Linked DNA regions of Homo sapiens: region 2 is linked to region 1. Evidence: promoter capture Hi-C in 16 types of primary human blood cells and fetal thymus (Javierre and others, 2016). All regions are on one chromosome and are shown on one strand. Each heading gives the region's core, a stretch centred on a gene start or on the middle of the fragment in contact. The rest is flanking DNA. Distances are from core to core; before and after follow the strand shown.

Region 1 (7,473 bases), core at 3,280-5,779:
GCCAGGTGTGGTGGCGCCTGTAGTCCCAGCTACTCAGGAGGCTGAGGCAGGAGAATTGCTTGAATACAGGAGGTGGAGGTTGCAGTGAGCTAAGATTGCGCCACTGCACTCCAGCCTGGGTGACAGAGTGAGACTCCGTCTCAAAATAATAATAATAATAATAAGGTTAGCCCAGCAAAGTGGCAGGTATATATATACAGGAAGGTCAGAAAAATCTTTTCCCTCCTATTGAAAGCCCAATACCTAAGTGGCAAGCCCTCATTTTAAGAAACTCACTAAAGGGATAACGGAAGTGCCATTGTCAGACTCACTGCCTCAGAAAGCTTTATCAAAACAAAAGGCTAAAGTTCCTATTCAAAAATATCCTATAATAAATGGCTGGCTATCGGGTACACTACGTATTTTATGCCATTCGTTCTCACGAGTTTTCTTTTTTTTTTTTTTTGAGACAGAGTCGGGCTCTGTCTCCCAGGCTGGAGTGCAGTTGCACATTCTCAGCCCACTGCAACCTCTGCCTCCTGGGTTCAAGCGATTCTTCTGCCTCAGTCTCCCGAGTAGCTGGCTTTACAGGCATGAGCCACCATGCCCAGCCTCTAAACTCTTTTTTTTTTTTTTTTTTTTTTTTTTTTTTTTTTTTGAGACAGAGTCTCACTCTGTTGCCCAGGCTGGAGTGTGTTGGTGTGAGCTCGGCTCAGTGCAACTTCCACCTCCTGGCTTCCCGGGTAGCTGGGATTACGGGCACCCACCACCACGCTAGGCTAATTTTTTATATTTTTAGTAGAGACAGGATTTCACCATGTTGGTCAGACTGGTCTTAAACTCCTGACCTCAAGTGACCCACACCAGTGTCTCCCAAAGTGCTGGGATTACAGGTGTGAGCCACTGCACCCGGCCTTCTAATCTTTTTCCAGCCTTCAAATTTTTTTTTTTTTTTTTTTTGATACAGAGTCTTGCTCCAGGTTGGAGTGCAGTGGTGTGCTGTCGGCTCACTGCAGCCTCCAACTCCCAGGTTCAAGCGATTCTCCTTTCTCAGCCTCCTGAGTAGCTGGGACTATAGGCGTGTGCCCCCACACCCAGCTAATTTTTGTATTTTTAGTAGAGACAGGGTTTCACCATGTTGACCAGGCTGGTCTCGAACTTCTGACCTCAGGTGATCCACCTGCCTTGGCCTCCCAAAGTGCTGGGATTACAGGCGTTAGCCACTGCGCCCGGCCATTTTTGTATTTTTAGTAGAGACGGGTTTCTCCATGTTGGCCAAGCTGGTCTTGAACTCCTGACCTCAAGTGACCCACCTGCCTCAGCCTCCCAAAATGCTGGGCTTACAGGTGTGAGCTACTGCGCCAGGCCTAATATCTTTTTTTTTTTTTGAGACAGAGTCTTGTTCTGTGGCCAGGCTGGAGTGCAGTGGTGCAATCTTGGCTCACTGCAACCTCCGCCTCCCAGGTTCAAGAGATTCTCCTGCCTCAGCCTCCTGAGTAGCTGGGACTACAGGCATGCGCCACCACGCCCAGCTAATTTTTGTATTTTTAGTAGAGATGGGGTTTCACCATGTTGGCCAGGATGGTCTCAATCTCTTGACCTCATGATCTGCCACCTTGGGCTCCCAAAGTGCTGGGATTATAGGCACCACGCCTGGCCCTAATCTCTTCTCAAAGTACTTTTTTCTTTAATGAATGTCTTAAATAAAAACTTTTTTCTAACCACAAACTTTTTTTTAAATTATTTTATTATGTAATTTTTTTTTAGAGAGTTGGTCTTGCTGTTTGGACCCGGCTGGAGTGCAGTGATATTCACAAGTGTGATCTTAGTGCATGAGAGCTTCATATTCCTGGGCTCACAATCCTTCTACCTCAGCCTGCCAAGTAGCTGTCACTACAGGTACCAGCTGCTGTGCCTGGCTTCCACCTTTTTTTTTTTTTTTTCTTTAATCAGTTCCTTTTAAAGACCAAAGAAAACCTGTCCTCTTGTGTGGCCTGAGTTGATCTATGAACATTATTCACTATGACCCAGAAAATCCCACGAAGTCGTGCATGTTAGAAGGATGAAACCCTCATGTTCACTGTAAACTGTGAAGGTGCTCAGGCCATCACAGGTATGCCTATATGAAAAGCCACCAAGTATCTGAAATATTTTCTTTTACAGAAATTATGTGTACCATTTCAGTCTTAGAAAGTGGAGTTGGTCGCTGTACGCAAGACAGACATTGGGGCTGGACTCACCATCAGTGGCCCCGAAAAGGTACTGAAATTTGCTTACAAGTGCAGAGTTATGCTGAACTTAAGGGTATAGATGTAGATTCCCTGGTTATTGAGCACATCCAGGGAAAAGGCACCCATAATGTACCACCTGACTTACAGAACTCATGGGCAGATGAACCCATCCACAAACTCCCCTGCCACATCCAGATGATGCTTAGTGAAAAGAAACACCTTGTTCCAAAAGCAGAAAAGGAGGATGCACGGAAGAAAAAGATACCCCAGAAGAAACATAAACTTAAGAGACAAACAAATTCAGCCAAAAGAAAATGCAAATAAAAGTTCAAAACAAAACAAAACAAAAAAACCTCTAAAATTCATAAAACACAAAATGACAAACTCTATTAAATATGCCCCTATGATATCTCTTAGATAAAAGTTGGCCGTAATAGAGAAAATGAAGATAGGTGTTGGTGACTGGCAGATTCTGGGTCTACGATGAATCAGAGAAGGATGGTTTTCACTTTGTTTTACATTTTTTTAATGCTTGATGTTGACTTGGTAGAAAGATGATAATAAAGAGATTCTTCTGTCTATGTGTTTCTTTTAGATTACTCATGTGGACTGAAGAAAAAAAATTAAATTTGTTAAAGAAAGTGAGTTTGATTTAGGATTGTGACTGAGGACAATAGCCTGGAAGCAGTTCTGACAGATGGCTGCTATGTAATATTTTGGTTCACAGTTTATAAGAGACATGTGGGCCCTGTGCTCTATCTTGTTTTTTCTTCAAAGCATAATTCTGGAGAGCTGGAGAGTCCCAGAGTCAGGAATGTTATAAAGTCAGGCTGGAAACCAGAAATAAGTAACATGACTAAACATTTGTGTGTTTTTTTGTTTTGTTTTGAGACAGAGTCTCGCTCTATTGCCCAGGCTGTAGTGCAGTGGTGCAATCTCGGCTCTCTGCAACCTCAGCCTCTTTGATACAAACGATTCTTCTGCCTCAGTCTCCCGAGTAGCTGGGATTACAGGTGGGCTCTACCACACCCGGCTAATTTTTGTATTTTTAGTAGAGACGGGATTTCACCATGTTGGTCACGCTGGTCTCCAACTCCTGATCTCAGGTGATCCAGCCACCTCGCCCTCCCAAAGTGCTGGGATTACAGGCTTGAGCCACAGCGCCCAGCCACTACTGCCTCACTTTCATGCAGTTAAATAATCTTGGACACTTCCTCCTCGACTTTATACATACACACTGGAGGAGAGCTTTGCTCGTGTGTTATTCTCGCAGTGGGATTGAGGATGTTTGTCTCATGGAAACTGATGAATGATGTGAGAAGCAGGTGAATAACCTGCAGGGGGCAGCAGAGACCGACGCCAGGGACGGGACGCTGAGGCTAGTATGGATCCTGCCAAGGAGTGAAGTGGAGTTCTGGGTGCTTCCTGGGCAGCCGCCCTCCCCTGCAGGTGGCTTGCAGCTGCTCAGAGCAGATCCAGAAAGAGTGTGGGTTCTGACATGCTGCAGCGCCCTGGAAAGCAGGAGACCCACGTGCAGGTGCACTTCAGGAGTTCTGTCCTTTCTGCGGCTGTACATCTGGAATCTGGGGCGGTTTTCGGGAGCAGTGTTTTGGGTTTGACATGCATAGAGTCCCTGGGGTCAGACTGTAATTTGCATATCTGAAGAAAATCCGTAAAGATCAAGTTCAGGGAAATAACTGTTTGGGACCTCTCCTGGAGAAGGGGCTTATGCAGTTGACAGTTTATTTAGGTCAGAAGCTTAAAATCACCAAGTGAGAGTTTTCTGCCGATGAAGATGAAGGTCTGGAAGGAGGGAGAGTTTCCACACTGTGAGGTGGGGTGAGATGTGTGAAAGCCTTGGCCATGTCTCATCCCTAATTCCGGGCCCCTGAAGGACAACTGCCTCTCCTTCTTGGTGCAGTCGTGCCTGGCCTGATCTGGGCTCCCCTTCCTGCTCTGAGGTCAGCACATCGCTCCATTGGACACTCAGTCTGGAATTCCCTGCACACACTTACAACCCTGTGCAGGACGAAGAAGCACTGACAGCCCATTGAATGAGGAAGAAGATAGTGCCCTGTGTAAAAATCAGGAGCAAATTTGGCTGAAAAGAAAATATCCAATGACCAGGGCTCAGGGAAGGAGTTGTCCCTTAGAGAGAAGCTGTGGCTAGAACCGATCAGTCCGGCTTTGCAGGGCTCGTTACCCAGGGCTTCTGCCGTCACTCAGTTCTGAGGGGGCGGGGCCTTGTACCTTGTCCAATCAGAAGCGCCGGGGCGGAGCCCGGCCAACGGTCCGTCCGGAAGGAGGAGGCCCATTCCAGCTTCTACTTTTGTTGCTATGCAGGTTGTTGTCGGGATACCAGATTTCCTACTCCGAGAGGCCCCGGGTCCCTCTGCCACAACTTCTGTCGCTCTGCCGCCTGCACCGTGACCCGCACTATTCACGGGAGCCCTAGAGAGGACACCGGGACACCCAGAAGCCGGGAAATGGTGAGTGTATGGGGCCGGAGTCCCCAGACGGGGGAGGGGCTGGGTGGAACCGGCCGGAAGCGGCTGTGGTGGGATCTGGGCCTCCTCGCCGCGCCTCCTGGATCTGGGACCCGAATCCCTCTGTCTCAGCTCGTCCCTGCGTCCCCTCGGCCGCAGGGTGCGGCTGGGCCGGCAGCCGGGACCCCGGGCGTCCTCCTGTTCTGTTCCTGCGCGGGCGACTGTGGGCCCCGACCCTGGAGCCCTCTCTGGGCAGCTCCGCGCCTGCAGCCCCGCGTCTCTTCAGATTTTGCGGGGACCACGGGAGGGTCATGGGGGAATCCTGCGGATTTTTTTTTCTGTTAAAGAGTTTGGGCCGGGCGCGGTGGACCATGCTTGTAATCCCAGCACTTTGGGAGGCCGAGGCTTGCGGATCACGAAGTCAGGAGATCGAGACCATCCAGGCTAACACAGTGAAACCCCGTCTCTACTAAAAATACAAAAAATTAGCCGGGCATGGTGGCATGCGCCTGTAGTCCCCGCTACTCAGGAGGCTGAAGCAGGAGAATCGCATGACCCCAGGAGACGAAGGTTGCAGTGAGCCGAGATCACGCCACTGCACTCCAACCTAGGGGACAGAGCGAGATTCCATCTCAAAAAAAAAAAAAAATTTAAAGAGTTTGAGCAAACAGCGATTCATGAGTGAGAAACGCCCAGTCATGATTTGTGGTTTTGGTACCAGAAAGTTTTAAGAAGAATTGCATTTTGTTAACGGTGGAGGGGGTCCAGGTTCTTGGCGTCTTGAACAAAGAATTGGACAAAACGCACAAAGCAAGGAAGGAATGAAGGGATTTAACACTCCACAGTGTGCAAGCGGGGCTGAGCACAGGGGCTCAAAGGCCCCGTTACAGAATTTTTGGGAGTTTAAATACCCCCTGGAGGATTCCATTGGTTACTTGGGGTATACTCTATGTAAAAGGAGAGGATGAAGTAAGGTTATAAAATCATTTACTTGGCTTACGCCCTATGGAGTAGGTATTTCCTTTCATAGCTGAAGTTTGAATAGGCCTTATGTTCCCTGCGTCCAGACCCTATTTTCCTGCCTCAATTTGAGTTTGATTTTGGTGTCCTTAGGTAGTTTCTTATAGCACTAAACACACTTCAGTCTAATTGCTGCTGCTTTAAATTTTTTCACACTGTCTATAGGGACTGGCTTCCTCCTGCATTTTCCTAATGTATGGGTCTCAAATCCTCCACCCTGCTACCCCGCCCTAACTCTTCAGCAGTTTGCAGTAACATCTTAAATTTTCAATTACTTTTCCGCATCTCCAAACATTAACTCCCCTTCTCCAACTCACAGTATTATCAACTTTCTTTTTTTTTTGAGACGGAGTTTCGCTCTTGTTGCCCAGGCTGGAATGCAATGGCATGATCTTGGCTCATTGCAACCTCTGCCTCCCGGGTTCAAGTGATTCTCCTGCCTCAGCCTCCTGTATCAACTTTCTTTATTGTAGAGTATATTTCTTCATCCTTTCTTTCACATAGATGCAGTATTTTAGTGGTTTATCATCTTTTCACAAGGTCATGGATAACTTTTTTTAAAATATTTGTGTTCTGTTTCTGAACATTTCACATAGAATAGAGAATAACCACTTGATACTCCAGTGAAAAACCTCTGTTCCTCTCCTCTTATCTTCGTAAGGCACAGACACCATCTCAGAATGTCTTTGGGTTGTTTCCTTTTTTTTTTTTTTTTTTGAGAGAAAGTCTCTCTTTGTAACCCAGGCTGAATTGAAGTGGCGTGGTCTTGGCTCACTGCAACCTCCGCCTCCCAGGTTCAGGTGATTCTCCTGCCCTCAGTCTCCCGAGTAGCTGGGTTTACAGGTATGCGCCACCATACCCCATGTATTTTAAGTAGAGATGGGGTTTCACCATGTTGGTCAGGCTGGTCTCGAACTCCTGAGCTCAAATGATCTGCCTGCCTCAGCCTCCCAAAGTGCTGGAATTTTACAGGCGTGAGCCACCGTGCCTGGCCTGTTTCCTTTTTGAAAACTTTACAGGGTGATGTGTCTTCAGGAGTCCCAATCTATCTTTTCCTGGTCCTGGGTTTCAGAACCGCCTGGGGCTGAACCAAAATGCCCACAGCTCCCATCTCTCCTGGCCTACTGAATATCAGCCCCTGTGTCAGTCCTCCCAGAGGATAGCCTGAGGCAGGGTGTGGGATCTCCCAAAGGAGCAACTGAATTTCCCAAATGGGAGGAGACTCCTGGTACACTCTTCATCTAGATAGCCAACCCCTTGGGATGCTCAGTTTTTCTCCCCCAGTCCCAGCTTCCATTATTTGGAGACACATAGCTGGTCAGCCAGTTGGATGTTGCTATTAAGGGAAAGGTGTAGGTGAAGTGAGCCACAGCAGAGTCATCTCAACAAAGCCATAAAGCCATGACATAACAGTGCATTATCACATCCCAGACAGATGAGGGCAGCACACCTTGCAGGGCAACACAGAGTGGGGGGAACATCCAGGATGCACATTCAACCAGCAGGTGGGGAGAAAGACAGACAGGGACTTTTGGGCCAGAGTTTTTCTTGGGGTCCAGGGCAATGCCCAAGGAGGTTTCTCTTAGGGAGTTGTTTCTGATAGATTTGGAGCAAGCAGGTGCTAGTTCTGTGAAGTCAGGCTGTGATTAACAGGTGGTCTGTGCCATCCACGTGGGTATAAGGGTCAGTGGGGCAAGTCAAGTTGGTCTGTCTAGCTTTTCCACAGTGAGGTCGTCACCAGGAGGCAGCTGTGTAAG
Region 2 (7,473 bases), core at 3,421-5,920, 580 kb after region 1:
TTTGTTTGTACATTTTTTCCTCAGCTTTGACTCCCTGTCTTCTGGTGATAAGAATTGTACGCTCTAGGGCTGGGCGCGGTGGCTCAGGCCTGTAATCCCAGCACTTTGGGAGGCAGAAGCGGGTGGATCACTTGAGCTCAGGAGCTGGACACCAGCCTAGGCAACTTAGTGAAACCCTGTGTCTACCAAAAATACAAAAAAATTAGCTGGGCATGGTGGTGGGCGCCTGTGATCCCAGCTATTTTGGGGACAAGGCGAGAGGATCGCTTAAGACTAGGAGGTGGAGGTTGCAGTGAGGTTGCAGGAAGTGGATATCACACCACTTCGCTCCAGCCTGGGCAACAGGATGAGACCCTGTCTAAAAAGAATTTTACTTTCTTCCTGGGATGGGGAGGGCATCTTCCATATGGGGGTTTATCTCGTTTTCCAGAGAAAAGAGGGAGGTCAGAGTGCTTTTCCTGCACCTACTGTTTTTCAAGTGCACTTAGCTGAAACAATCCATATGCCAAAGTGGCATATTTTGGAGTGGTGTCATCTGCCACCCTCAAAATGAAAGAAATGGTTCATAACAGCTCTAATAATTGTTCAACAACCGGCAACAATGCAAAAAACAGGTCACTAACAGGTGAAAAGATAAACAAAGTGTGGGACATTCATATAACAGAATACAACTGAATAATAATCATGCCTATAATCCAAGCACTTTGAAAGGCCAAGGCAGGTGGATTGCTTGAGTCCAGGAGTTCGAGACCAGCCTGGGCAACATGGCAAAACCTTGTCTTTACAAAAAACACAAAAATTAACTGGGCGTGGTGGTGCACAGGTGTAATCCCCGCTACTCGGGAAGCTGAGGTGGGAGGACTGCTGGAGCCTGGGAAGTTGAGGCTACAGTGAACCATGATGGTGCCACTGCACTCCAGTCTGGGTGACAGAGTGAGACCCCATCTCAAAAGAAAACAAAAAAGAAACAAACTGCTGACATATCCAACAACACGAGTGAGTTCCTTTTTTTCTTTTTTTTTTTTTTTGAGACAGAGTCTGGCTCTGTTGCCCAGGCTGGAGTGCAATAGCGTGATCTCGGCTCACTGCAACCTCCGCCTCCTGGTTTCAAGTGATTCTCCTGGCTTGGCCTCCCAAGTAGCTGGGATTACAGGCGCACACCAACACATCCAGCTAATTTTTGTATTTTTAGTAGAAATGGGGTTTCACCATGTTGGCCAGGCTGGTCTTGAACTTCTGACCTCAAGCAATCCACCCGCCTTGGCCTCCCAAAATGCTGGGAACATGAGTGAGTTTCAAACATCTTATGCTGGGGAAAGAAGCCCAGCTCAAAAGGCTACACGTTGTATGATTCAGCTTATATGACTTTCTGAAAAAGACAAAGTTACAGGAACCAAAAACAAATCAGTTAGGGCCAGGGGCTGGAGTAGGGGACAGAGCACAAAAGGGCAAGAGAAAAATTTCTTTTTTTTCTTATTTTTTTTTTTTTAAGACTGAGTCTTGATCTGTCACCCAGGCTGGAGTGCAGTGGCACAATCTTGGCTCACTGCAGCCTCCGCCTCCCGGGTTCAAGTGATTCTCCAGCCTCAGCCTCGCTAGTAGCTGGGACTTCAGGCGTGTGCCACTATGTCTGGCTAATTTTTGTATTTGTAGTGGAGACTACAAGGGGTCTCACCGTGTTGCCCAGGCTGGTCTCAAACTCCTGTCTTCACGTGATTCGCACACCTCGGCCTCCCAAGGTGCTAGGATTACAGGCATGAGCCATCACACTCGGCTACTGGTAAGAGGAAATTTCTTAGGGTGATGGAAATAATTGTCTTGATTATGGTCATGTTTTAATGATATACCTGTATGTCAAAACATGCAATTTCGGCCAGGCATGGTTTAAATATGAGCAGTTCATGTTCAGTCAATTACATCCAACAAAGCTGGGAAGGAGGGAAGTAAGAGAGGGAAGGGATGAAAGGAGAGAAAAAGAGAAAACTAATGTGGCAATCATGAACAAAATGAAAGATATATACATCCTGTGACTCAATGTCTTTGTTTTTTTTTTTTTTTTGAGATGGAGTTTCACTCTTGTTGCCCAGGCTGGAGTGCAGTGGCGCGATCTCGGCTCACTGCAACCTCTGCCTCCCGGGGTTCAAGTGATTCTCCTGCCTCAGCCTCCTGAGTAGCTGGGATTACAGGTGCCTGCCACCATGCCCAGCTAATTTTTGTATTTTTAGTAGAGACAAGGTTTTACCATGTTGGTCAGGCTAGTCTTGAACTCCTGACCTCAGGTTATCCACCCGTCTTGGCCTCCCAAAGTGCTGGGATGGGCCAGGCGCCGTGGCTCACGCCTGTAATCCCAGCACTTTGGGAGGCCAAGGCAGGCAGATCACGAGGTCAGGAGTTCAAGACCAGCCTGGCCAACATGGTGAAACCCCATCTTTACTAAAAATACAAAAATTAGCCAGGCATGTTGGCGCACACCTGTAATCCTAGGTACTCAGGAGGCTGAGGCAGGAGAATTGCTTGAATCCAGGAGGTGGAGGTTATAGTGAGCCGAGATCACGCCACTGCACTCCAGCCTGGGCCACAGAGCAAGACTCTGTCTCAAAAAAAAAAAAAAAAAAGCAAAAACAAAAAAGTGCTGGGATTACAGGTGTGAGCCACCATACCCGGCCATCATTTATTGTTTTTTATTTTATTTTATTTTATTTTTAGAGACAGGATTTCACTATGTTGCCCATGCTAGCCTCAAACTCCTGGGCTCAAGCAGTCCTCCCACCTCGGCCTCCCAAAGTGCTGGGGTTACTGGGGTGAGACACTGTACTCACAAATGTCATTTTTTGAAAACTATGCTTCACTAAAGATCCAGTCTTAAGGATACTGATTCAGGGACATTTACTGCATCATCACAGTGGCAAAACTCAGGAAAGTCCAGGAATTGTCCATCAGTAGGATAACCGTTGATTATACTATGGCAGAGTTGCACTATGAATCATGTAGCTACTAAAAACAAAAGTTAGGTATACGTGTATAGATGGTTAAGTGGAAATAGCAAGTTGCACGGTAACTGTATAGTATGATTCCATCCTGTGTGTATTCTAGTTTGCTCCAGCACTGAAAAAGGGTCTCACAAGAGGGCAGTTCTACTGGTTACACTTGACGGTTACCAGGGTAACACTGCCCCCTAGGGGATATCCTAGAGATCCCTCTACAGACAGCCCCTGACTTGATTATGATAGGTTTATCGGGATGTAACCCCATCGTAAATCAAAGAGCATCTGTATTCGAAATACATTTCATTACAAATTATCTTCCTGAACACTCTAATGCAACAGCTCTTATCAAGGTCCGCAGGGACCAGACCCTTGCCAAACTCAACTGTCAATTCTCTTTCCTCATCTTCTTCAACTCAGGGACACGTGACACAGCTAACCCCTCTCTCTCTCCATCTTGAAATATCTTTTTCAGGCCAGGTGTGGTGGCTCATGCCTGTAATCCCAACAATTTGAGAGGCCGAGGTGGATGGATCACTTGAGGTCAGGAGTTCGAGACCAGCCTGACCAACATGGTGAAACCCCATCTCTACTAAAAATACAAAAATTAGCCAGGCATGGTAGTGCGCACCTGTAATCACAGCTACTTAAGAGGCTGAGGCAGGAGGATCGCTTGAACCCGGGAGGCTAAGGTTGCAGTGAGCCCATATGGCGTCACTGCACTCCAGCCTGGGCGACGGAGCGAAACCCTGTCTCAGAAAAAAACAAAACCAAAAATAAAAACCAATAAAAGTCCTTGGCCGGGCGCGGTGGCTCACGCCTGTAATCCCAGCACTTTGGGAGACCGAGGCGGGTGGATCGCGCCTGTAATCCCAGCACTTTGGGAGGCCGAGGCGGGTGGATCACGAGGTCAGGAGTTCAAGACCAGCCTGGCCAAGATGGTGAGACCCCATCCCTACTCAAAAAAAAAAAAAAAAAAAAAACTACAAAAATTAGCCGGGCGCGGTGACCGGCGCCTGTAATCCCAGCTACTCGGGAGGCTGAGGTAGGAGAATCACTTGAACCTGGGAGGCGGAGGTTGCAGTGGGCCGAAATCGAGCCACTGCACTCCAGCCTGGGCGACAAAGTGAGACTCCGTCTCAAAAAAATAAAATAAAATAAAACAAAAATAAAAAATAAAAATCCTTAACACGGCCCACGAGGCTCCATGGAATCTGGCCCCAGCCTGTCCACTCAACCTCATCTACTACAATCTGGGCACTCAAAATGTGGTCTGCGGATCAGCAGCATGGAAGTCACCTGGGAGCGAGTTAGAACAGCAGCCTCTCAGGCCTCCCTCTTCATCTGCTGGATCAGAACTTGAACTTTTTAGTTTGAGTAGAGCGTCTTCCATGCTTACAAGCTTCCCCTTCACCCTGATTCAGCCATAAGGTTATTTCATATTCCTCACTTGCCGCTCCTGGAAACTGACCAGAAGTACTGGCATCGCGCGTAGGTACAGGCAAATACGCACCGGCTCTTGCGCAGGCGCACTGCGTCTCCGTCGGAGCGCTGCTATTTGAGTACGCGTGCGCTCAGAGGAGCGGCGAAGGAGGCAGGGCCTATTTGCTGGGCTGTCCGGGATGGGGGTGGCCGGGACCTGAAAGTAGGAGAGGGGTTTCCGCTTCCGGCAGGAGTCGGAAGTCACTATCTCCCGGGTGAACGGAGCTTTCGCAGCTGGAGAAGGTGAGTGCTGGTGCGGCTCGTGCGAGTGGGCGTTGGGGGTGGGCAGGACTGGAAGTTCCTCTACTCCGTGCGTTTACGGGGTCCTGGAGGAGGCTCCTGGGACCTCGAGCTTGGGGGAAAGCCGGTCGGGGAGACTGACTCCCCCCGACCCCATCCTTCCAAGCGCGACTACCGGGACGCCTGGCTCCTCCCGGCGGCCGTCGGGAGGCGATGCCGAAGCTTTAGTGAGTCTGGAGGAACAGCCAACCCCCCACCTCTTGGGTACCAGCAGATTCGGGGGATGACTCCTCTGCCATCCCCTTTTGGCGCTCTTGGACTTAACGTTGTCACAGGACAGGCTGAGGCCTCTGCATTCCTTGTGCAAGCCAGACCCCATTCATGGGATGGGGAGACTGTAGTCCCTGGGCAAAATGAGCTTCTGGGGCTCATCCGTAGATTTTGTTTGGACTTTTTTTTTTTTTTTTGAGAGTGAGTCTTGCTGTGTCGCCGAGGCTGGAGTGCAGTGGCGCGATCATAGCTCATTGCAGCCTCGACCTCCTGGGCGCAAGCTTCCCACTTCAGCTTGCCGAGTAGCTGGGACTACAGACTCAAGGCTAATTTTTGTAATTTTGTAGAGATGAAGGGTCTCACTCTGTTTCCCAGGCTGGTCTGGAACTCCTGGCTTCAAGCGATCTTCCCACCTGGGCCTCCCAAAGTGATGAGATTACGGGCGTGACGTCCCAAAGTGATAGAGTTACAAGCAAACTGATTGAGTGATTTATTCAGTAATGGTTATTGCTGGGCACGGTGGCTCATGCTTGTAACGCCAGCACTTTGGGAGGCCGAGGCGGGAGTATCTCTTGAGCCCAGGAGTTCCAGACCAGGCTGGGCAACATGGTGGGTCCCTGTCTCTACAAAAAATACAAAAATTAGCTGGGCGTGGTGCCGCGGCTAATTTATATTTCAGAGGTAGAGGGGCAGGGGGAGGATCGCATAAGGAATGTGTGAGGGAAAAAGACATTGAGGATGAATCCAAGGTTTCTGATTTGATTATCCGGAAAGATGGAATTGCTGTTAGCTGAGATGAGGAAGACTGGAAGAGCAGGTTGCAATGTCAGGGGCTTGGTTTTGGACATGATATGTTTAATCTTAGGTGGAAGTTAGACATCAGGTGGAGGTGTGGCTGAGGCAGATAGATCAGAGTCTGCAGTTCAGACTCAAGGCTGGAGAAGCAGGTGGCCTCAGTGTAGAGTAGGCATGAAGCCCTAAGACTGGGTGAAATCTTCATGTGGTGAGTATAGCCAGAAAGGAGAGGATCCAACAATTAAACTCATGGGCTTTTTGCTCTGTTGCCCAGGCTGGAGTGCCTCGGCTCACTGCAACCTCCGCCTCCCAGGTTCAAGTGATTCTCCTGCCTCAGCCTCCCGAGTAGCTGGGATTACAGGCGTGCACCACCATGCCTGGCTAATTTTTGTATTTTTAGTAGAGATGGGGTTTCACCATGTTGGTCAGGCTGGTCTCGAACTCCTGACCTCGTGATCTGCCCACCTCGGCCTCCCAAAGTGCTGGGATTACAGGCGTGAACCACTGCACTCAGCCTTTTTTTTTTTTTTTTTTAGATGAAGTTTTGCTCTGTTGCCCAGGCTGGAGTGCGGTGGCACAATCTCAGCTCACTGAAACCTCCGACTCCCAGGTTCAAGCGATTCTCCTGCCTCAGCCTCTCTATTAGCTGGGATTACAGGCATGTGCCACCACGCCCAGCTAATTTTTGTATTTTTAGTAGAAATGGGGTTTCACCATGTTGGCCAGGCTGGTCTCCAACTCCTAACCTCAAGTGATCTGCCCACCTTGGCCTCCCAAAGTGCTGGGATTATAAACGTGAGCCACAGCGCCTGGCCCAAACTCACGTGCTCTCTTCATTGGAGCAAGTTGGCAGAGAGGCAGGAGCATAGGAGACTAGCAGGAGCCACCAGTGAGGCAGAGGACAGGGAGCACATGGCATCCTGAGAGCCACATGTGCTCTCAGGGGAGGAAGGACCTCTGGAATGGGAGGACTGCCATTGGGATTTGCAGTATGGAGCCACCAGTAACCTAAGTTTGGAGGCAAGGGGTGCAGAGAGATGGGTGGGAATGCAGATGGCTGTACACTAAAACAGCCTGCAGAGAAAAGGATCATAGCTGGAAGAGGATGAAGAGTTTTTTTTTCCCCCTTTTTAAATGAGGAGAGAGGTAATAACAAGTGTGTGAGAGTGATCCAGTGGAGCTGGAAAATTTGATGTTGCTCAAAGAAAAGGGGATGGGAGCCAGGGCAGAATGAACAAATTGTTTTTGCAGGAACTTACTTCCATAGTAAAGGAGGCATGCCGAAGCTGGGCATGGTGGTGCACACCTGTTGTCCCAGCTACTGAGCAGGCTGAGGCCAGAGGATTGAGGCTTTAGCAAGCTGTGATCATGCCACTGCACTCCAGCCTGGGCAACAGAGCAAGACCTCATCTCTTAGATAAATAAAGAGGGTGGGTGAATGGCTGAATGAGTTGGTCCTAGGAGCTGTCTTTGGATTGCTTCTATTTACTCAGTGAACTGGAAGCATCACAGTTAAGAGTTGGGGGTGTTGGCTGGGCGTGGTGGCTCACGCCTGTAATCCCAGCACTTTGGGAGGCCGAGACAGGCGGATCACGAGGTCAGGAGATCGAGACCATCCTGGCTAACACGGTGAAACCCCATCTCTACTAAAAATACAAAAAATTAGCCACGCGTGGTAGTGCATGCCTGTACTCCCAGCTAC

The links. Contacts are between HindIII fragments. The CHiCAGO score rates a contact against its expected background, and 5 or more counts as called.
Region 2: a contact is called between the fragment with the promoter of ELOF1 here and the fragment with the promoter of ZNF20 in region 1, in 2 of 17 cell types (total B cells and naive B cells). The highest score is 6.8, in total B cells.

The regions. Positions count from the first base shown.
Region 1 is chr19:12,137,406-12,144,878 of GRCh38, reverse strand. ZNF20 (zinc finger protein 20) reads left to right here and starts at 4,529. Exons shown (of 4, transcript NM_021143.4): 1 at 4,529-4,699. The coding sequence starts at 4,697. It overlaps ZNF625-ZNF20 (ZNF625-ZNF20 readthrough (NMD candidate)), which reads left to right. Exons shown (of 8, transcript NR_037802.1): 4 at 2,164-2,238; 5 at 4,554-4,699. It also overlaps the pseudogene RPL17P47. RefSeq lists silencers at 4,743-4,952, 6,658-6,760. The HindIII fragment of the contact is 6,979 bases long and covers 3,971-7,473 here.
Region 2 is chr19:11,556,427-11,563,899 of GRCh38, reverse strand. ELOF1 (elongation factor 1) reads left to right here and starts at 4,670. Exons shown (of 4, transcript NM_032377.4): 1 at 4,670-4,709. RefSeq lists an enhancer at 3,052-3,346. The HindIII fragment of the contact is 542 bases long and covers 4,389-4,930 here.